Regions from separate parts of the Homo sapiens genome. Here all the other regions are linked to region 4. The links are contacts of gene promoters, found by promoter capture Hi-C in blood cells and fetal thymus (Javierre and others, 2016). All regions are on one chromosome and are shown on one strand. The core of a region is centred on a gene start or on the middle of the fragment in contact, and the rest is flanking DNA. Distances in the headings are between cores, read along the strand shown.

Region 1 (3,094 bases), core at 1-2,500, 470 kb before region 4:
AATAAAGTTGTTGGATGGGGAAAGAGTCACAATTCTCAAAGAATCACCCAACAGATTACATACTATTTACATGGAGGGAAAATATCCTCAAATAGAGAGATCTGATAGACAACACCTTAAACAAGGGACCAAATTTACCACCACCCATAAGAGGACAAACTTATATTCCTGATTGTGATTTAATTGAAAAGACACAGTATCTCCTAAGTACAATTCTTCCTAAAATATTAATATATAACCTGAATCTTACGGTGAGGAAACGATCAGACAACTCTATGTTTGCAACATTCTATAGGACGGCTGGCCTGGATTTTCAAAATTGTTAATATTATGGAAGACAAAAAAAGGTAGGGAGACAGTTCTAGATTAGAGAGATTTATAGACAAGGCAACTAAATGCCGTGCATAAACCATAATTAGATTATGGCTCTAAAAGAAATAGCCATAAATGACTTTTGGGGGACTAGTAAGAAAATATGACTATCCACTATATGTTAGATAATATTCCTAGATCAATATTAAATTTCATTGGTATGATAATTGGTTTTATGGCTAGAAAAGAGAATTTCCTCGTTCTTAAGAGATACATGCTAAAATATTTAGGGGTGAAGTGTCATAATGTCTGCAATTTACTGTCAAATGATTAAGCAAAATGAAAGATTAAGTCTAGAGAGATAAAGTAAATGAAGCAAAATGTTAATGGTGAGTTTAGGTAAAGACTACATGAATGTTCATTCTTTCAAACCTACAGTAGGTTTTTAATTTTTCAGAATAAGCAGTGTAAGAGAGAAGAAAAGAAATTCTAAGGAAAAAAACTACAACAAAATTTATAGGATGGCAGAAAGTTGAAATGAAAGCTTTATCTGCCAGGAGGAAAAAAGGACTCCAATTTTTCTTAACCTAAGTACATTTTTTTTGTGCAAATATGTTAATGTGCTTTTCCCCTAAAACACTTGGCCCTGTTTTCTAATTATATACTTAAGTCAGGCTGGACATAACTTGAATTTGGCAAGGAAAGGAAAGGGAAGGGGAAAGGGGAAGGGAAAGGGAAAGGAAGGGAAGGGAGCAGAAAAGGAAAGGAGTAGTATGTATGTATAGTTTGCTCCTATTTCTATATCAAATAACCTATATGTGTACAAACATAAGCACATACACCATAGAAATCCCTGTCTAGTTCATTTTTTATTAGGAACTCTTATCGAGCTATGTCCCTCATCCTCACAGCATTGTTTGAACGACTATGTTTCTTCCACTAGCCCTTAAGATCCATGAGAGACCTTGTCTTATTTGCTGGCACATAACACAAACTCAAATATTTTTTAAGTGAATGAATGGAAAATGAGTTCAGAATAAGCATGGAAGGAGATGTGTGGAAGCTGCCCAGGCTGGAGCAGAGAGCAGGGCTGGGGAACAAGGGGTTGGAATCTTAGTGGGTAAGGCAGAGTCAAAGGCAGATAGTCTGCCTTTGCCAGGTTAGGTGATGGGCAGCCACAACCCCATTCTGCCTTGTATGTGGTTGGTTAGCCACACCTCTTTCTACTTCCCTTTATAGACTGTGAGCCTATGCAGAGTGAGAAGTGTACCAGCTCTGTCTCTGCACGCCATCTCCCAATGCTGCCTAGCACAACACAAGGTAACTGATTGGCAAAGCTTAGCTGAAGAATGAACTACAAGTCCTTAAGCGGGTAGCATTTATTGATCACATTCTTCCCCATCAACCAGCTTAATTTTTGTTATAAAAACAAAAAAGCAAGCTGAATCTACCAAAGTCGATATTTAACCTTATCTTTATTTTTGGCTTCACTTGTGTAACTAGTTCCACTTAGTCACACTGTTTATCTACTCAGCTATGAAAGCCACAGCATTCGGCAACAACAGTGACCTTCTCAGCAGCTAGAGAAGGCCACATATTTTTTTCATTCAGACTTCATGCTTGAAAAATAAACAAGCAAATAAACTTCCAACTTGCTTTAGCTTTCAATGTACCCAAAATGGTTCCCAATAACCCTTCCCACCAAGGGACTCTCCATAAACATCGCCTCCCCAAATTCTCAAGATAACCCAATGATTAAATACTCTTAAGCCTTATTAAATGACTTGCCCAAGTCCCAGAACTAAAAAGAAGCAGAGCCAGCTCTGCTTGGTTACATACAAAACCAACTTCAGTGCTTATGCTCTAAATCCATTATTCTTAGCTGACTCTCAAATGTCTAATAGGTCTAATAGCAGGGGGGTTGCAAACTGCTGCCCACAGGCCAAATCCAGCCTGCCACCTGTTTTGGTAAATAAAATTATGTTGGAAGGCAGCCACACTCATCGTTTACATATTGTCTATGGCTGCTTTCACATTACAGTAGCAGAGTTGAGAAGCCACGACAACATAAAGCCTAAAATATTTACTATCTGGCCCTTCCTAGAAAAAGTTTGTCAACCCCTGGTCTATAAAATCTAAGCAGAGACTATAGATTCAATCATAGGATAGGGTGATATCTACTTAGCTACTACTTTTTGTGATGAAATAATCAGCTGCTCATAGGTACACTTAGGGTTTCACTTTTTAAACAAAGAAATAGCCCCATTTCCTCACTGATTAATGTCCTAGAACCAATTTCTTGCATGCTACAAGACTGTCAAGTGGAAAGGAGTTGGAGAAAATCAGATTCCATAGCTCCCAGCTCACCACACTTCAGATGTAAGCACAGGTCTTGGCCAGAGAATACCAGATGAATCCAGACCTTCCACTCCAACACTCTGGACAGACAGGCAGCCAAGCTAGGCTGGACTTGCACACCCCAAGGAAAATGAGGAGTCCTGGGGTACTTTCCCTGCTTTCAAAATGTGTTTTGAAGATCAAGAAGCACTCCAGTTAAAAAGGCAGGGCACTGACTTGGCAAGGGGAGAAGTTCAATTGGGAGCAATTCTCAGCAAAACATAGGAAGAAGAGAAAGACGCTAATTTTGACAATATCAGGGAAAAAAAACTAGGTTCCTATACATGGACCTGAATTGTTACTCAATCTGAGAAGGACTAACTTTATTAATAACAACAAGCACAGTGCTAGGCATTTTACACATATGATCTCATTTAATCCACCA
Region 2 (2,721 bases), core at 122-2,621, 370 kb before region 4:
GTGGCAGGTGCCTGTAATCCCAGCTGCTTGGGAGGCTGAGGCATGAGAATTGCTTCAACCCGGGAGGCAGGGGTTGCAAGCAGTTAAGCAAGTCTGGAGCCGAGATTGCACCACTGCACTCCAGCCTGCACAAACAGAGCAAGACTCTGTCTAAAAAATAAATAAGATGGCTAATGGGTACAAAAAGAGTTAGAATAAGTAAAAGCTAGTATTTGATAGCATAACAGGGTGACTATAGTCAGTAATAATTTAATTATACATTTTAAAATAACTAAAAAAGTGTAATTGGATTGTTTCTAACACAATGGATAAATGCTTGAGGTGACAGACACCCCATTTACCCTGAGGTGATTATTATCCATTGCATGCTTGTATCAATATATCTCATGTATCCCACAAATATATACACCTATGTACCCATAAAAAATAAAAATTAAAAAAAAATCAGCAGAGATTTAAAAAAGAACATTGAACAACACAGGGTATTAACAGAAAAATCTACACACACACCTCCATACACATACACACACGCGCGCACACACACACACACACAAGATAAGGCAAATATGGCAAAGTATATATAATTATTGACTCTAGGAGGAAGGCATATGGGTACTCATTGTATTTACCTTTTAACTTTTGTATGTTTGAAAATCTTCATAACAAAGAAACACATTATATAGCACTGTCAGAAAATATGCCATAATGGTTCAGGGATTCTATCCAGGTGGTAGATTTATGGATGACTGTTGTTGCAAATTTTCTTCTTTTACTTTGATGCATTTTCTATAATGGACATATATTATTTTTATTATCAACAATTAAAGCCATATTCTATTGAGCATTAAACAATTGTCCTATCACATGTATCTACTGTAATGTGTCCTTTTTGCTAAATTACTTGATAGTATAATAGACACAACAGAGGCCAGCCACCTTTTCTATCACTCTTCACATTTCTGAGTTCTCCCTCTTAGAGGCACAAGTTTAGGGCAATTTGTGTTTGAACTCTGAGGTCAGGAAGCATCTTGGGAAAAGTTTCTAGACAAATGGTTGCTTTACTAGTTAGGGTACACCCTCACTAATGTTGTGCTATCAGTTTTAGAGCCATAAAACTGAATTATCAGTGTGACCCCCTAGATCAGTGAATGGCACCACTATCCAGCTGAGGTTGCTAGATGTCTTTTCCCTTGACAACCACCCCACCACCAATTCCACTTTCCAGACATGCTTAACTGATTGCAATTCTCCTAAAAGACATGCTCTCTGAGCTCCAGGCCTTTGCACATATGGTGCCCTTTGTCTAAATTAATGTTCCACAGCCTTTTTAATGTCATGGTGCACACAGAAAAAAAATTTATATAATACACAGGTGTAAAGTGGAAAGAATGTGGTGTTATCTGCAAGGGCCTTGCTAAAAAAAATTCAATACGGAAGATATTTAATATTTAAGATAACAAATATTATTTATATTTAAGATATTTAGATGTACTTAAAATATTTAATAAGATATTTTAATGAAAACCTTTAGCTTACTAATTTAAAAATTGTTTTTTCTTTGTAATTTGAAATAATTCCAAACTTACAATAGAGTTGCAACAATAATAATGCAAATAACATTTTTCCTGAAACAGTAAAGAGTAAATTGCCAACATGATGCCCCAGTACCCACCACTAAGACTTTAGTGTATAATTGCTGTGAACAAGGACATTCTCCTATGTAACCACAATATAACCATCACAATTAGGAAATTAACATTGATCCATCACTACCAACTAACCCACAATCCCCATTCAAGTTTTGACAATTGTCCGAATAATGTGAATGGATCTAGTCCAGAATCACACTCTGCTTTTGGTTGTTATGCCTCTTAAGTCTCCTTGACTTTGACTCTCTTGAAGACTTTGACTCTCTTGAAGACTTTGACTCTCTTGAAGACTTTGACTCTTTGACTCCTGACTCTTTTGAAGATTGCAGACTTATAGACTAGTTACTTTGCATAATGTACCTCAATTTGAATTTGTCTAATATTTCCTCATAATTAGACTAAGATTACATATTTTGACAGGAACGTCACAGAAGTGATAAGGCAACCTATCAGGTAGTAAATGATTTATTTTTGTCCCATTACTGTTAATTTTAATCACTCAATTAAGGCAGTGTCTGCCAGATTTTCCACTCTGAAGTTGCTTTTCTTCCGATTTGTAAGTACTAAATTTGTGTGGAGGTATTTTGAAACTACATAATATCCCTTTCCTTAGCAAACTTCCATCCACTAATTTTTAATATTCATGATGATTCTTGGCTGAATCTATGATCATTTATAAATCTATGATCATTTATAAATGGTGATTTTCCTACTCAAGCATTACATCTACACTTACTAGATCTCTTCTCCCCAATTATTTATTCATTTATTTATATTCACATGGACTTATGAATTCTTGTTTTTATTCCATGGATTGTAATCTTCTACTACTATTATTTACTTTGGTACCCAAAGTATGTCAGATTTGGCCACTGGGAATTCATTCAAACTGACTTCTGTGTTCTTTTGACATGTCCCCATAATTCTTTGAGCACGTTTTACTTTCTGGCCTGACAAGATATTTTAGGCTCATCTTGGACTTTTCCTGCCCTATCCTGGAATCAGCGATTTCAAGAAATCTTGTTTCCTTTTAGTGGAGAATGGTACTTAGAAATCAAGATATTGGCACTAG
Region 3 (3,076 bases), core at 399-2,898, 350 kb before region 4:
AGGGCTCTCTTGCAGGTTGCAGTCCACCAGCTTCTCACACAAGGAAAGACAGCTCTCTAGCTCTCTGGCCCCTTCTTTATTTTTTATTATTATTTTTATTTTTTTGTAGAGACAGGATCTTGCTATGTTGCCTAGGCTTGTCTAGAACTCTTGGCTCACTGGAGCCAAGTGATCCTCCCACCTCAACCTCCCAAAGCACTAAGATTATACAGGCATGAGCCACCATGCCCAGCCTTGGCCTCTTCTTACAAGGGCACTAATCCCATTCATTGATGAGGGCTTCACGCCCATGACCTAATTACTTTCCAAAGGCCACGTCTCCAAATACCATCACCTGGGAATAGGGTTTCAACACAGGAGTTTTGAGGGAATACAAACATTCAGTCCACTGCACATACACAGATGCTTGATAAATGACAGAGATGGCATGGTGAAGTAGTAGGGGCAAGGACTGTCTTTTTGATAAATGGTAGTAGGACAATCAAATATCTGTGAGAATGAAATGAAGTTATATTTCTAGCTGGTACTAAACCAAAAAGTCAACTTCAAATAGATTATAAACCTAAATGTAAGAATAAAAACTGAAAGCTTTTAGAGGATTATATAAGAGAAAATCTCATGATCTCAGGATAAAGAATTTCCTAAGAAGCAGAAAGCACTACATTAATGTTTGTTGAAGATAATGAACTGAGTCACAAAATGTCACTGAAGTAAAAGGTTAGAGGTGCACACCCAAATGGAATGAAATTCCACAAAGTAGAAAAGAAGTCATCAAAATGGCAAGAGAAAGCCAGAAATAAAGACAATTATTGTCATTTACAGTAGTTGTCTCTATAAAACTGTCATGAACACTGCACTAGCAAATACTGAAGCTCTGATCCTAGGGGAAATATAGGGCTAGGTTCCTGGTAAGCCTCTGGTCACATGTTCATCAACCAATCAATACATAACTTGTTTTATAAGTGTTTCTGCTTAATGATATTTTATTTAATATACTCATGGCAACAGCACTATAACTCATGATTGAACAAAGTTTATCTAACACATATGTTTTCTCAATAAGATACATCACAGCCTTCTTCCATTTAAGAACACTAGAAAGCACTTCAGTACTACACTTGGGGGCCATTTAAACAGTGAAATCACCAACAAAAAGCACAAACAGGTTAAAAAAAAAAAGCACTAAATCAACCACAAAAAGACAATTGTTTATAGTGTGAGAACTGAAGTAAGAAGACAATGTTGCCTTGTTCAGCCTCAATTGGGAACGAGTCATCAGGTGACTTAAATTTTGAACCACTCTGCACATGTCCACAAATGACCATGCAAGTCCTGAGTACTGATTTTGGAGTTACAAATAAATTTTAGTGAGTAGGTGAATTTGTAAATACAGAATCCTTGAATGAGGCTCAACTGAATAGATATACAGAAGTCCCTCGCTCTGGGGTTTTGCTTTCCATGATTTCAGTTACCTGGGATCAGCCATGGTACAAAAATGTTAAACAGAAAATCTAAGAAATATACCATTTGTAAGTTTTAAATTGTCATTCCAAGTAGCATAATGAAATTTCTCACCATCGTGCTCTGTCCCGCCTAGGGTATGAATCACCGCTTTGTCCAGTATATCCATGCTGCATATGCAACCCATCCATTATGGTCCAGAAAAAAAACACTGTGTACACAGGCTTCAGCACTATCCACAATTTCAGGCATCCACTGGGGATCTTGGAACGTATCCCTCAATGATAAGGGAGGACTACTATATTCAGTCCTGTGAGGCCTGGACTGTGAGAGAAGGTACATTTTCAGTTAAGTCAGCAAAGGAATCAGGGTCCTCAGAGAAGGACCATGTGATGCTCTGAACAAAATGGGCAAGAGGGTACTGGAGGGGAACAGTGCCTGAATGGGCTTACATTTTGAGGAACAGCCAAAGATGACAGGGATGAAGGAACTTGATACAATCAACTGACCTCAACATTCCAAATGAAATCCTAGCAAAAGTTATTTCAATGGTTTTTATGCTTTGACTTATTTGTCTGCCATGGCATCATAGCATACTGATCAGGTCTGGATATGAAGATGTGTCAGGCATGCTCAAACATCAGTACACCCCAGACTGTTACTTCCTTAAGAAATGAGTGTGGGCTAATATTTAACAGTGTACCCCTGACTGTTACTTCCTAGAAATGAGTGTCGGCTAATATTTAACCACAAAAGTCATTGTTTATAATGTGGTATTTACAATGGGACTGGAGAACTAGAAACAATCTATGTCCATCAGTGGGAAACTTGTTAAACTATGTTCTACCAAAAAAAATGGATTTTTATGATAAAAGCAGTAGCATTTTTGAAATATCTTCTAATTTATGTTGCCAATTCCCACCCCTACCTCTACCTTACCCCTTTAAACTTAACCAGCCATCATCAAAGAGCGTTAAGAGAAGGTGGGGTCCTATAATAACATAGATATAAAAGTAAGCACTGTCAAAAATAAAGTATTTATTTTAGCTGCCATTTAACAATCAAGCTACAGAGTTCTTCCTGTCTTCTATTAAAACTTCTCCTTAAAACTAACATTGGGAAGGACTTAATAGATGTGGGGAAGGGGAGAGATATGACAGAAAACTGGAGAGGCAGATATCATATAAGACTTCATAAGGAATAGTAGATAATTTGGATTTTACCACAACTGCAATTAGATACTGTCAACAAGCTTTAGGTGAAGAAAAAGCAACATGATCTCATTTATTTTTTTTTTTCAAAATCTACTCTGACGCAGTGTGGAGAAATGATTGGAAGGAGGTAAAAGAAAACGTGGAGAGACAAGTAACTACACCATTGCTTTAGTCCAGGTAAGAAATGATGGTGGCTTAAACTAGGATGACTAGAATGGCAATGGAGTTTGAAAAAGGATGAACTTAAGACACATTTTAAAGCAGATAATCCTTTAAAATGCTAAAATTCAGGTATTACAGTGACAATATTATTTTTCCCCTCATGGTATTTCCCAACTTTTTGTTAAACAATAGTACTTACATCTAAAATTTTTAAAACATCACTTACTTTAAAATAATTC
Region 4 (3,014 bases), core at 393-2,892:
GTCAGGAGTTCAAGACCACCCTGGCCAACATGGTAAAACCCCGTCTCTACTAAAAATACAAACATTAGCTGGACATGGTGGTGCATGCCTGTAATCCCAGCTACTCAGGAGGCTGAGGCAGGAGAATTGCTTGAACCGGGACCTGGAAGGCAGAGGTTGCAGTGAGCCGAGATCGTACCACTGCACTCCAGTCTGGGCTACAGAGGGAGACTCTGTCTCAAAAAAAAGAAAAAAAAACTATAAAAGAGGAAGATTAAAAATATTCAATTCTATTTGATTTATCCTTAACAATGCTATTTATATTCACTTTCAAACCCCTAGAATGACAATGTTTACTAATTGCAGAACATAAGGCTTAAAACATTAAATGTTATGCCATAACTGAAAAAAGTACCAATAGCCTAAAATTCCATCAATAGAAGATCAAGTAAATAAATTGTAGTTCTAATACACAGGGAAATATTACACAGAAATTAGGAAGAGTGAGATCAATTCAGATGCAATGATCTGGAATCCTATCTGAGGGACTCTGTAAAGGGGTCAAGGGAAAGGGACTGTTCTGTTTTATGGGGGGAAAATGTTTATAAATGCATAGAAAACTCCTGGAAGAACAGAAAGTGTTAAGTGGTTGCCTCTCTCTGGAGCCTGGGACTTGGGGTAAAAGAGGACAGGTGAAGGAAAAGTCCATTTTATTTCTCATTTTACATCCTTTTAAAAACTATCACATATAACTTTTATACTTAGAAGAATAAACTTAAATTTAATGCTGAACACTAAGGGTTTAAATGGGTAGGCACATTTACATAAGCATTTTTTTTTTAAGGGCAGAGAGGAAAAAAGCATGAATCATCATACCCAGAAGTTACCTGAACAATGGTGAATCCGGATCTAAGAATAATATCTTGTATCTCCTCCTCTTTGTCAACAATATCTGGTTTGATAATGGCCAGAGTTTTTTCTACATATATCTGAGGTGGAGGCATTGATATCTCCATTATGGCTTTTCAGGGCACAAATTAAGAGTTTCTTAACAGGTATCAACTGCAATGACATGCATTTCCCCCCACCCCCATCGCAAATTCAATGTAATTATGATTAAGAATAGCAATAGTAGGTACTTGATTTTATTAACTGATGAAGGTAGAAACTGCCATGTTTTTCTATATACAGGGTCTCAATAATAGGATTCCTACTATGTCCAAATCGAGCCCCGGCTTTTCGTATACGATGTCACCAAGGCAGGAAGGACTATGGGCTCACATAACCAGAGGCCAAGGGGCGACCCGAAGGCCTGGAACCAGCAACAGCCCCAGGCAGCAGAGGGCGGTGGGGCGGGTGGTGGGGGCTCGAGGGGGCGGTAGAGCGGGTGGTGGGGGCTCGAGGGGACGGTGGCTGGTGGGCAACCACACACCATTACAGCGGCGGGTGAGCGGCCTCGGCCAGCTGCCTCTGTGAAGCGACCCTGTCCCGCAGGGACCTCTCTGTGCATAGGGTCAGGCTAATTGAAAAGCAGGGCCTCTAGGTCCGCGGGGACTTTCCGGGTTGCACCTGCAAATTCTGAATTTGACCCTCTCTAAGTACTCACCTCAGCGGCCGTCCTCATATGGTACAACTTGTTGCTAGGAGACCTGAAGCCCCAGCGTGGGGACGGTGGCTGCAGAGAGCCAATCCCAGCAAGGAACCTTGCAGCTTCTGGCCAGTTCGTTTTAACCAAAGGGAGCCAGCCAGTCACTTTTATTCTCCTTGTGAATCTTAGAGCACTAGATGTTTTCTGACATTTTACTCATAATTTATCTTATTTCATCCTTCTTCCCGTTTGAAGGATGCTTCAATTATCCCTACTCTATAAATGATAAGAACCCCTCCCCCAACCATTCCTTTCCAGGCGGTATATGTAAATGACCCGTGTCAGATACCTTCGTTTCACCAGATGATGCTGTGCCCTCTATGCCCAGCTTATCTAGTCATTAAAAAGCAATATTCCTATTGTGTAAATACATTTATTTATAGAGTAAAAGGCTTAGAAAAGATCTAATGGAATTGTCTTTAAATCAAGCCGATGGAACAAAGATGTGGGCAACATTTATGGCATAAATCCAAACCTCAGCTTCCCCTTTTTTTCTTTATATTATGTCCACATGCATCTTTGACTCGTTGGTTGTGAGTTAAGGTATTATTCTTGTTGGAAAAGAAAATGAGGACATGGCAAAGAAGTACCAGGATCCTCTCTAGGTCAGAGTTCCGGGAGAGATTCAAACTCTAGAAAAAGTCAGGATAGCAGCTCCAGGTTAGAAAACAGGTTTTCCATCATCCACTGGGTTAGCTGGTTCTCCTTCCAGACTACTTGAGCCTTTTCTTTTGTCTAACCAGATATTCAGTACCTAAAGGGTTAAGGAACACATAGCAAGCTATTATGAACCTTAAACACTAAAGTATTGCAAGTTTATTTTTTTGGCAAATAGACTCAACTATACTTTTTTCTTTAAAGTATGATGCTACCCAGAAAAGAAACCCACAAATGTCTTCTAGCTACTATATCTTATCCCCTAAAGATGGGAAAGTGTGAACGTACATTAATAACAACAGATGAAGCAACCAAAAAATACACAGTGACTCCAGCCTCTTTGGAGTTTAGCCCTTGACTTGAGGCTCTGGAAGCGGGAATTCCCATTACTTGTCTATCCTCAGCTCTCTTGAGAGCTCTTCACTGCTGCCTGCATTCCTAGACTACTTCACTATCAGAGCTGGACTTACTGAGGCTCAGGGTTTTCCAAACCAGCAGGCACATTATCAATCCTTCAGGGCCTTAATCACCTTTAAAAATAAACTCTGAGAACACAGTCACCTCGAAATCACCTTTATTCTCATAGGCGTTCTGAAATCAAGATTCCAGAGGCTACAGGTATCTGCATACAGTACCTGAATCTGCTCCAGGACTTCTTGCCGCATCTCCACAGCCATATGGTATACATGATGATCAGAGTCATTGTACATTACAGCATTTTGGAACATCA
Region 5 (2,948 bases), core at 111-2,610, 390 kb before region 4:
AATTTTACTCTCCTCATTTGCCATTTTTCATAACCTGATGGACAAATTCCGGTCAGCAGTTTGTTACAAATGTATAAAGTGTGACAAAACCAAATGGAGGGAAGCTTTTGGAGAAAGAAAAGGAATTAACAAAGCAGAAACAGCTCAGAAGAGCTCTCCACTAGACAGAGCTGGCTGACTTCTGTGACAGGTTGCCCAACTGCTCCTTCTATCCATAACCTGATGTTTTCCAATTAACTTGGTGACTCTTTGAAAAAAAAAAAAAAAATCTGCCTGTGTCAGGGATCCCCCGGACCAAGCCCATATTGAGATTTGATAGAAGGGTTCACAAAACTCAGCACTGCTAAGTATCGTACTCATGGCTAAAGTTTATTACAGTGACACAGTAAGTGTACACAGTTGGATCATACAGGAAAAAGACATAAGCAGAATCTGGAGGAATCCATGTGCAGGCTTCTTTAGGATCTCTCCCTCCCATGAAGATTCACACAGAGCACATTTTTATACGAGGGATGTTTCTGCCTAGGGACTCAGTATGCAAGGTTTTCATTGGGAGTTTGGTCATATAGACATCCTTTACCTGGCATGTACCAAAATTCCATACTCCCAGAAGGAAAGCAGGTGTTTAGCATAAATCATCTTGTTTGAACAGTCTAGGTACAGTGAACCACCTTTATTAGTGAACAGTGAGAATACCCCTAAATCCACGTGTTCAGATAAGGGCCAACCATGCAAGTAGGCCACTCTAAAAGATACCAGCCTCAGGCCAGATATAACTTTTTCTGCACACCCCCAATTCAAGATTCATTTTGGCCAAAAAGCAGCATCTCTCAACATATATATGTAGATACCTATGGTAGAGTTGAAAAGATTGTGGATCACTTATACCTTATCCAAGTAGTTCTGATTGCTTTCCTTATAAACCTTCATTGAAAGCAGCTGTATGAAAGGAATAGGAATTTTGGGAAACACATCTTTTAAAATTCAAATCAGATCATGGAACTCCTCTGCTCAAAACTGAAATGGTTCACCATTCATTTAGTGAAAACCAAAATCCTTACAACAACCTACAAATCCCTACATGATCTGGCCCCTCTGGCCTCATTATTCCTTTCCTCCTCTTCCTTCAGGTCCAACAACCCTGAACAATTTGCATTTCTTCAGAGGCCAGACACAGTCCTGCTTCAGGGCTTTTGCTCTTCCTAATCCTCTACCTAGAATGCTCTTCCCATACCTATATTGCTCACTCCCACATTTCCTTCAAGTCTTTGCTCAAATGTCACTTTCTGAGAGACCTACCCATACCACCTATTTTAAAGTATGCTATCCTCACAAACATCCCTTGCAACAATCGCCATTCCTCACCCTAATTTTTTCTATACTTCTCATCTTCTAACATACCATATAATTGATTATGTCTTATTGCCTGTCTCTCCCCAGTAAAATATAAGCTCTTTGAGGGCAGGGATTTTTGTCTTTTTCTTCTGTATTTCCAGCACAATCACCCAGCAGAAGAGTAACAAATTTTAACTTGACATACTAAGAAACAGGGAGGCACTGAATTTAGGGATAGTAACCTAGTGCAAATAGCTAGATCTTCACGTTTGGTGGTGTGGGAAGATCAAGTCATAAGAAAATGTGAAAGAAGTTTTTTTTTTTAATTTCACTGAAGAGATGACCACAGTATATTCAGTTATTGAAGAGTTTTAATAAAAGGAACTATTTACAAGGGTATGGGCACAGTTAAGGCAAATCAACAAGGTTTGAACCTTCTTGGGACTAGAGAATCTAGCAATAGGAGACAGTTACGAGAAGCCAGAAAAGACCTAGAGCTATAAGAGGGCCACTGGAGCAGAGCTGTGGCCACTCACAATCTCTTGCTAAGTATATGAGAAAGAGAAGGAGCAAATATTTCAGCCTCACTTTTCTATCACTGTCCAAACCCACCATGAATAAAGCCAGAAAAGAGAGTATGCAGTTCTTTATTTGTCAGCCTCCCAGGAACACAGAACAAGAGAGATAAAGATGGAAAATAGATCAGGAAGGGCAAAAAGAATATCCAGCACAATGGCCATTTTGTAAAGCTATATGCGCAAGACACAATGCTTCAATGTGCTACCAGCATCTTCAACTATGTCCAAATCTTCCCTCTAAATCTTCTCTTCCTATTACCAGTGGCATCACCATCCTCTCACACAGTAATTTTGATTAATCTACTCTCTCTTCCTCATTCTTCATATATCCAAATATTTGTCAATTATGCTTTCACAACTTACCTCAACTTCTTTGTCAGTCTATTTCCATTGCTCTTTGTTCATGCTCTCATTCTCTTACCTGGTTAACATCAGTTGTCTTAGCAAACTTGCCACTTTGAAACATCCCCCACTGCCATTTATGTTACTCAGTGCTACTGGACTAATCTTTGTGAATTAGTTTCACTACCATTATTGTTGCTCAAAAACCTTTAATGACTTTTACTGCCTACCCTAAGTCCAAACTCCTTAGCCTACTACTCAAAGACCTCAGTAACCTGGTTCCAACTTCATTTTCTCAATTTATTTCTCACAACTCTCTTTTATCTTAGTACAAATTAGACATTTGTTAGCTGGAAGTCAATGAAGCTTAGTAGAAGGAGCGAAACAACTAGAATTGGTCAAACTTGGATTCAACTCTCAGTTCTACCATGTCACCAGCTGGGGGTCCTTGGGAGTTACTTTTCTGGCATGAGATTTAGCAACCTTATCTGTGAAGGTTACTGAATGATGCAATGAGAACATTTGTAAATGTACCTAGTGTTTGGCATCCAATATGCATACTTCTCCAAATACGCTCCATGTTTCTGCCTATCTGTCCTCCACCTAAAATGCCCTCTTTCTCCTCCCACCTTCTCTATAAGACCTATCTTTTAAGGTTAAATGTTATATGCTCCACAATGCCTCTCTTGATCC
Region 6 (2,974 bases), core at 219-2,718, 410 kb before region 4:
GCCTTCTTTCTTGCCCTCCTCTATCCTCTAAATTACAGATCCACATATCCAATGTCTTATTTGACTCCCCTAATTAGATTTTACACAGGTAATTCATACTTATTCAAAATTTATGTTCCCCACCCTCCCTTAAGCCTGCTACTCTTTCTGTATTCTCTATCTCAGAGGCATAACCAACCACCCAATCACCTATCCAAGCCAAAAACTGGGGTGTTATCCTTGATATCTTCCTCCCTCTCTCTCTCTCTCACTCCTCACATACAGCCATAAATCGAATCAATCCTATGTCCATTAATATCCCTGCACCCCATTTCCTTCTCACTTTCGCTACCATTACAACCCCATTCCAGGTCATCATTGTCTCTTGCCAGGATTATTATAATAACCTCCTCCCAGACTCCAGAGGGACTTTTCCAAAATGTCAATGTGTTCCAGGCATGTTCTACATGAAGCCTCACTGATTCCTCACTGCATTCAGAATAAATCTCAGGGACCTAGCCTGGCCCTTAATCCCATCGTTGCCCTGAAGACTTCTTATTACCGTAATACTAAAATACTTGCAATAGCCAAAATACACTAGGCTCTCTGCCTTGTGAAGTTTTGTCTCACTAGAAAACTGTTCTATCTTATTCCCCACTCATTCTCCCGTGTCTAGCTAGTTCCTACCAGCCTTCAAGCCTCTTCCCTGAAGCCTTCCCTCTCATTCTCCACTACTCACTAGATTAGTTAAAATCTAGTGGGAAACTAGGTTAGTTTCCCCAGTTCTGTATTCCCACAGTACTGTGCTTCCTTCTGTATTGTATTCTAATTACCTCTTACTTATCTGTCTGCCCCACACAGTGTGTGCTGGTAAATGTTTAACAGTTGATTGGGAGGAAAGGAGCCCTGATTTGTAACATTTGCCAATTTCCAGACTGTAAATACTCCCACCATGGCAGATTTTAAGCTACCAACATGATGCCACCGAACATGAGATTTGGGAAGAGATGTGCAACAGCACACCATCATATCACTGTATAGTATTTCTACACCAAGACACAATAGACATAACCTCAAAGCCCTAGAAGATTACAGTAAAAAATAATTAGAAAGTGATGAGTTTGGGGTATTTATTACATTCATTTTTAATATAATTTATAAGTTACATAATTTGTTAATAATGGCTATATTTAATAACTGGCTCCGAAAATTCCTGAAAATTTAACAAACAGCTTTTCCAAGTGGGTGAGTGCTGACTCCAGCACACTGCTGCCCCCTCTAGATTGTGAGCTCTCCATGAGAACCAAGACAGTTATCTTAGTTGCCTCTGAATTCTTAGCTTCTGTCACATGACAGGTGCTCAATGAATGATTACTGAGTAAATTAATAGGTAGATAAGTAAATTAGGTTTAACTACTGACCACTGTAGCTTTCCTCACTCCCCTTCATTAAAATACTGATGGCTTTGTCCCCCTCAACTTTCTCTCCATGACCCCTCCACCTCACGTTCAGAGAGGAGTACTTTCTTAGGCAGCCCAGTCCCCTGCATTGATGACACAGAATCAGGAGGATGGGAGTGAGAGAAAGCCAGCAACAACTAGAGAAGAGGGAAGAAAGTGAGATAGGTTACTGCTTACTGTGTCAGTTCTTAGACTCTTTCTATTGCTGAGGAAAATGGAGGCAGTGAATGGAAAGGAAAGGATACTAAAAAACATGCTAGAAAGGCAGGGGATAGAAGAGTCTCCAAGCAGGCTGATTGTGCAGCAATGTTTGGGGGAATCCAACAAATGAGGAGCTCCAAGTGATGAGAACTCACGGACACAAAGAAGGGAACAACAGACACTAGGGCCTACTTGAGGATGGAGGGTGGGTGGAGGAAGAGGAGCAGAAAAAATAACTATTGGCTACCTGGGTGATGACAGGTACTAATCTGTACAACAAACCTCTGTGACACAAGTTTACCTATATAACAAACCAGCACGTGTACCCCTGAACCTAAAATAAAAGTTAAAAAAAAAAAAAAGAAAAGAAAAAACAAATGAGGAGTTCCAGAACATCTTGGGTGTGCGAGAATGTAGAGGGAAGGAAAGTGGAGTCTGAGAAATGCTGTTAAAGGTTATGATCTGTTTCACCTCTAAAGGTCTCCAAGAGATGCAAATAAAATTCAGAAGTCATGAGCTGATACTGGCCACATACAAGAGGCCCAAGCACATTATGTTCAAGCTAGAGATGAGATGGAATAAAGAGGCAAAACCACTCAATGAAGGCAAAACAACTGTGAGCCAGGGCAAAGCTGTGCTGAATGCATTAAAAACTCTCAACAAAGAAAGTGTCATTTAGAAAGGAATAACCAAAAACTAAGAATCAGACAGAGAAGAAAGCCCTCGGTCCAACCCATCACACTCTGTCTAGGAAAGTGATTTAATCATCAGATATCGTCAGCTGGTTCAGCCTCAGGTCAGATCCTCATGGTGGAGTTTGAAGTCTGTAAATACTCCAATGCCATAACTCAGTCCCTAGTTTACTCTGCAGCCTTTTGACCAGTTTGGCCTCCCCCGTGGTTGTCCTTCAGAGAGGTAGAATGTGGTTGCAGGCCCTCAGGAATATCTTGCCAGTAATATTTTACTGCAAATCAATAAACTGATGACATGTTGACTATTGTATTTTAGGTTCTCATGAGGTCATTGGCATGACTCTGCTTCTCCAACTCTGGACAGCAATGGGACCCTATATAGATAGGATTTCTGAGCCCCTGGCACTCTGGTCAAACTGCAGATCTAGTAAGTATCCCAATCCTAAAGTTCAAGACCAAAATGATCAAACTTAGATTTCTACTTCTGGATTAATGAAGAACCTGACTCTTGAAGATGTCCAGCCAGCAGGATTCAGGACTTGGTGGTGCAGTCCTGCTATCACAAAGTACCATTTACACACAGGTTACCAGAGAGCCCCATACTCTTCATCCTCTTTCAGCAGTGCCACCTCAGTTCATAGA
Region 7 (3,134 bases), core at 360-2,859, 330 kb before region 4:
CCCCTTCTCCAGCTTTACTCCTATTATGCATAGCCTATACTGTGGTCTTAATTGTGGGCCTTTTTGGAAACCTCTCTCTCATCATCATCATCTTTAAGAAGCAGAGAAAAGCTCAGAATTTCACCAGCATACTGATTGCCAATCTCTCCCTCTCTGATACCTTGGTGTGTGTCATGTGCATCCATTTTACTATCATCTACACTCTGATGGACCACTGGATATTTGGGGATACCATGTGCAGACTCACATCCTATGTGCAGAGTGTCTCAATCTCTGTGTCCATATTCTCACTTGTATTCACTGCTGTCGAAAGATATCAGCTAATTGTGAACCCCCGTGGCTGGAAGCCCAGTGTGACTCATGCCTACTGGGGCATCACACTGATTTGGCTGTTTTCCCTTCTGCTGTCTATTCCCTTCTTCCTGTCCTACCACCTCACTGATGAGCCCTTCCGCAACCTCTCTCTCCCCACTGACCTCTACACCCACCAGGTGGCCTGTGTGGAGAACTGGCCCTCCAAAAAGGACCGGCTGCTCTTCACCACCTCCCTTTTTCTGCTGCAGTATTTTGTTCCTCTAGGCTTCATCCTCATCTGCTACTTGAAGATTGTTATCTGCCTCCGCAGGAGAAATGCAAAGGTAGATAAGAAGAAGGAAAATGAGGGCCGGCTCAATGAGAACAAGAGGATCAACACAATGTTGATTTCCATCGTGGTGACCTTTGGAGCCTGCTGGCTGCCCCGAATATCTTCAATGTCATCTTTGACTGGTATCATGAGGTGCTGATGAGCTGCCACCACGACCTGGTATTTGTAGTTTGCCACTTGGTTGCTATGGTTTCCACATGTATAAACCCTCTCTTTTATGGCTTTCTCAACAAAAATTTCCAAAAGGACCTGGTAGTGCTTATTCACCACTGCTGGTGCTTCACACCTCAGGAAAGATGTGAAAATATTGCCATCTCCACTATGCACACAGACTCCAAGAGGTCTTTAAGATTGGCTCGTATAACAACAGGTATATGAAAATTGATAATGCTGAAGCTCTTCTTGAATGGGAGCTGGACAGGTAATGGTGGGAATAGGGCAAGATGCAGAAAGAAGAAACCAGAACCAAAAATAGCAACTTTATACCCACTTTTCCTTTAGGCTAAGACTGCCTGTCTCATATGTCTATCCAACACACCCTCCAACATACACGAACACACATACCACCCCTTTTCTCTTAAGAAAATAACTCTAATAATTCAAACAACCTGCCCGCCATCATTTGTGGCAAAGAATGAGAATGAGAAAGCAGAGAGAGAGGCAAACAGCAGTGATGGCTGGGGAACAATGTTCACAGATACTTTTATTCAATGGAATATCTACAAAAGTTATGACTAATGATATGCCTAGTAAAAACACTGCTATACCTCCTTAGCACTGAAGCAAGTCTATTCTCAGATATGAAAACTGTAACTTTCAATCATATAACTATTCAATTAATTAGCCAAGTCAGAAAATCCCCCCTTAAAATTCATTAATTAATTAACAAACTAAGTTTGGACTAAAGTTGAAGGGCTGGTTTTAACTTAACATTTAAACGAAGTGTTGTAATTACAATTAATTCCCATGCTTGAATCATATCTCCAGTTTATGATAACAGTACATTTTATTCACTAACAATGCTATTAGAACTGGCCACAAATTCTTTAGCATAGCAATTATGCTAGAAATTGCTCTAACAAACTTATTAATGGCCAATGTAGATACAGCTTTCCTCACAAAGTGGCTTTTAATCCCTAATTCTTTATGTATATTAAAAAGAGGTCATTATGACTCTATTACTGGATCTCAGAGACTTTGTCAGTAGCATTTTTATAATTAGCGCCAGATTTTTAAAACCTTCTCATATATCTTGTGGCTTAAACATTTTTAAAAGAGCCCTCATCCCCACAGAGTTGCTTACACAGGGGAATCAACTAGACTGTTCTCAAAAGACACTAAGCTACTGTTCAAATTGCTATTAACTGAAGTCACTTTTATTAAATTGTGACCAGCTTTACCACTTCTTAGAACAAACCTCCCCTATATCTATCAAAGTTGAACTGCAGCTTATTTGTATGTTAAAAATGTAACTGTAGGCTGGACTCAGCAACTTACACCTGTAATCCCAGCCCTTTGGGAGGCCAAGGTGGAGGATCACTTTTGCCCAGGAGTTGAAGACCAGCCTGAGCAACACAGTGAGACTCCATCTCTACTAAAAATACAAAAAATTAGCCAGGTGTGGTCATGCATACCTGCAGTCCCAGCTACTTAGATGAGAGGAAGGATCACCTGAGCCTGGGAGATCAAGTGAGTCATGATCACACCACTGCACTCCAACCTGGATGAAAGAGTGAGACCCTGTCTCAAAAAAAAATTTTAAAAGTAACTATATTTTCTTTTGAATAAAAAGTAATGTTTCTGGAAACATCTGTGATTTTTCTATTGTGCTTTTTCTTGCACATTAGCTTTCACATTTTCCTCTCCTGAAAATCTCTTTCTCTCTTCCTCTTTCCCTCCTTCCCTTATTCTCTCTTTATTCATTCTCTTTAGGGTTTCTATTCTCTGTTTTATCATTTTGGAATAAATGAACAACAAAAGCACTGCAGAACACACAAACGAAACAAAATCTAACCATCTCATGGCAGTAGCTGTAAATGTCACTTTACTTACTTGGTAAAGAAATACCGATTCTAGGCCAGGCATGGTGGCTCACGCCTGTAATCCCAGCACTTTGGGAGGCCAAGGTGGGCAGATCCCTTGAGGTCAGGAGTTCGAGACCAGCCTGGCCAAAATGGTGAAACCCCATCTCTACTAAAAATACAAAAATTAGCCAGGTATGGTGGTGAGCACCTGTAATCCCAACTACTCAGGAGGCTGAGGCAGAAGAATCTCTTGAACTGAGGAGGCAGAGGTTGCAGTGAGTGGAGATCATGCCACTGAACTCCAGCCTGGGCAACAGAGAGAGATTCCATCTCAAAAACAAAAAGAAAAGAAAAGAAATATGATGCTAGTTGTCATTACTAAAATGATTCTGATCAAACAATTTGATGTGGTTTAGATGTGTGTCTCCTCCAAATCTCATGTTGGAAAGTGATACCCAGTGTTG

Evidence for each region. Contacts are between HindIII fragments. The CHiCAGO score rates a contact against its expected background, and 5 or more counts as called.
Region 1: a contact is called between a fragment that was not itself captured here and the fragment with the promoter of NME5 in region 4, in 5 of 17 cell types (naive B cells, erythroblasts, total B cells and 2 more). The highest score is 7.8, in naive B cells.
Region 2: a contact is called between a fragment that was not itself captured here and the fragment with the promoter of NME5 in region 4, in 12 of 17 cell types (naive B cells, total B cells, total CD4 T cells and 9 more). The highest score is 14.4, in naive B cells.
Region 3: a contact is called between a fragment that was not itself captured here and the fragment with the promoter of NME5 in region 4, in 10 of 17 cell types (total B cells, naive B cells, activated CD4 T cells and 7 more). The highest score is 7.3, in total B cells.
Region 5: a fragment that was not itself captured here is called in contact with the fragment with the promoter of NME5 in region 4 in 1 of 17 cell types (erythroblasts); the score reaches 6.1 in erythroblasts.
Region 6: a contact is called between a fragment that was not itself captured here and the fragment with the promoter of NME5 in region 4, in 1 of 17 cell types (total CD4 T cells). The highest score is 5.0, in total CD4 T cells.
Region 7: a fragment that was not itself captured here is called in contact with the fragment with the promoter of NME5 in region 4 in 1 of 17 cell types (erythroblasts); the score reaches 5.8 in erythroblasts.

The regions. Positions count from the first base shown.
Region 1 is chr5:137,664,833-137,667,926 of GRCh38, forward strand. All of the region lies in intron 6 of KLHL3 (kelch like family member 3), which reads right to left. Among named protein-coding and RNA genes, the nearest start is that of MIR874, 19 kb to the left of the region's middle. The HindIII fragment of the contact is 793 bases long and covers 855-1,647 here.
Region 2 is chr5:137,770,689-137,773,409 of GRCh38, forward strand. No RefSeq gene overlaps it. Among named protein-coding and RNA genes, the nearest start is that of HNRNPA0, 18 kb to the left of the region's middle. The HindIII fragment of the contact is 4,693 bases long and covers 1-2,721 here.
Region 3 is chr5:137,790,344-137,793,419 of GRCh38, forward strand. No RefSeq gene overlaps it. Among named protein-coding and RNA genes, the nearest start is that of HNRNPA0, 38 kb to the left of the region's middle. The HindIII fragment of the contact is 2,125 bases long and covers 587-2,711 here.
Region 4 is chr5:138,137,786-138,140,799 of GRCh38, forward strand. It overlaps NME5 (NME/NM23 family member 5), which reads right to left and starts at 1,643. Exons shown (of 6, transcript NM_003551.3): 1 at 1,586-1,643; 2 at 867-1,000. The coding sequence starts at 995. It overlaps BRD8 (bromodomain containing 8), which reads right to left. Exons shown (of 27, transcript NM_139199.2): 26 at 2,920-3,014; 27 at 1,985-2,381. The coding sequence ends at 2,289. The HindIII fragment of the contact is 15,003 bases long and covers 1-3,014 here.
Region 5 is chr5:137,745,303-137,748,250 of GRCh38, forward strand. It overlaps HNRNPA0 (heterogeneous nuclear ribonucleoprotein A0), which reads right to left. Exons shown (of 1, transcript NM_006805.4): 1 at 349-2,948. Among named protein-coding and RNA genes, the nearest start is that of HNRNPA0, 7.6 kb to the right of the region's middle. The HindIII fragment of the contact is 2,517 bases long and covers 103-2,619 here.
Region 6 is chr5:137,726,993-137,729,966 of GRCh38, forward strand. All of the region lies in intron 1 of KLHL3 (kelch like family member 3), which reads right to left. Among named protein-coding and RNA genes, the nearest start is that of KLHL3, 7.6 kb to the right of the region's middle. The HindIII fragment of the contact is 4,572 bases long and covers 1-2,974 here.
Region 7 is chr5:137,808,299-137,811,432 of GRCh38, forward strand. It overlaps the pseudogene NPY6R. Among named protein-coding and RNA genes, the nearest start is that of HNRNPA0, 56 kb to the left of the region's middle. The HindIII fragment of the contact is 3,463 bases long and covers 1-3,134 here.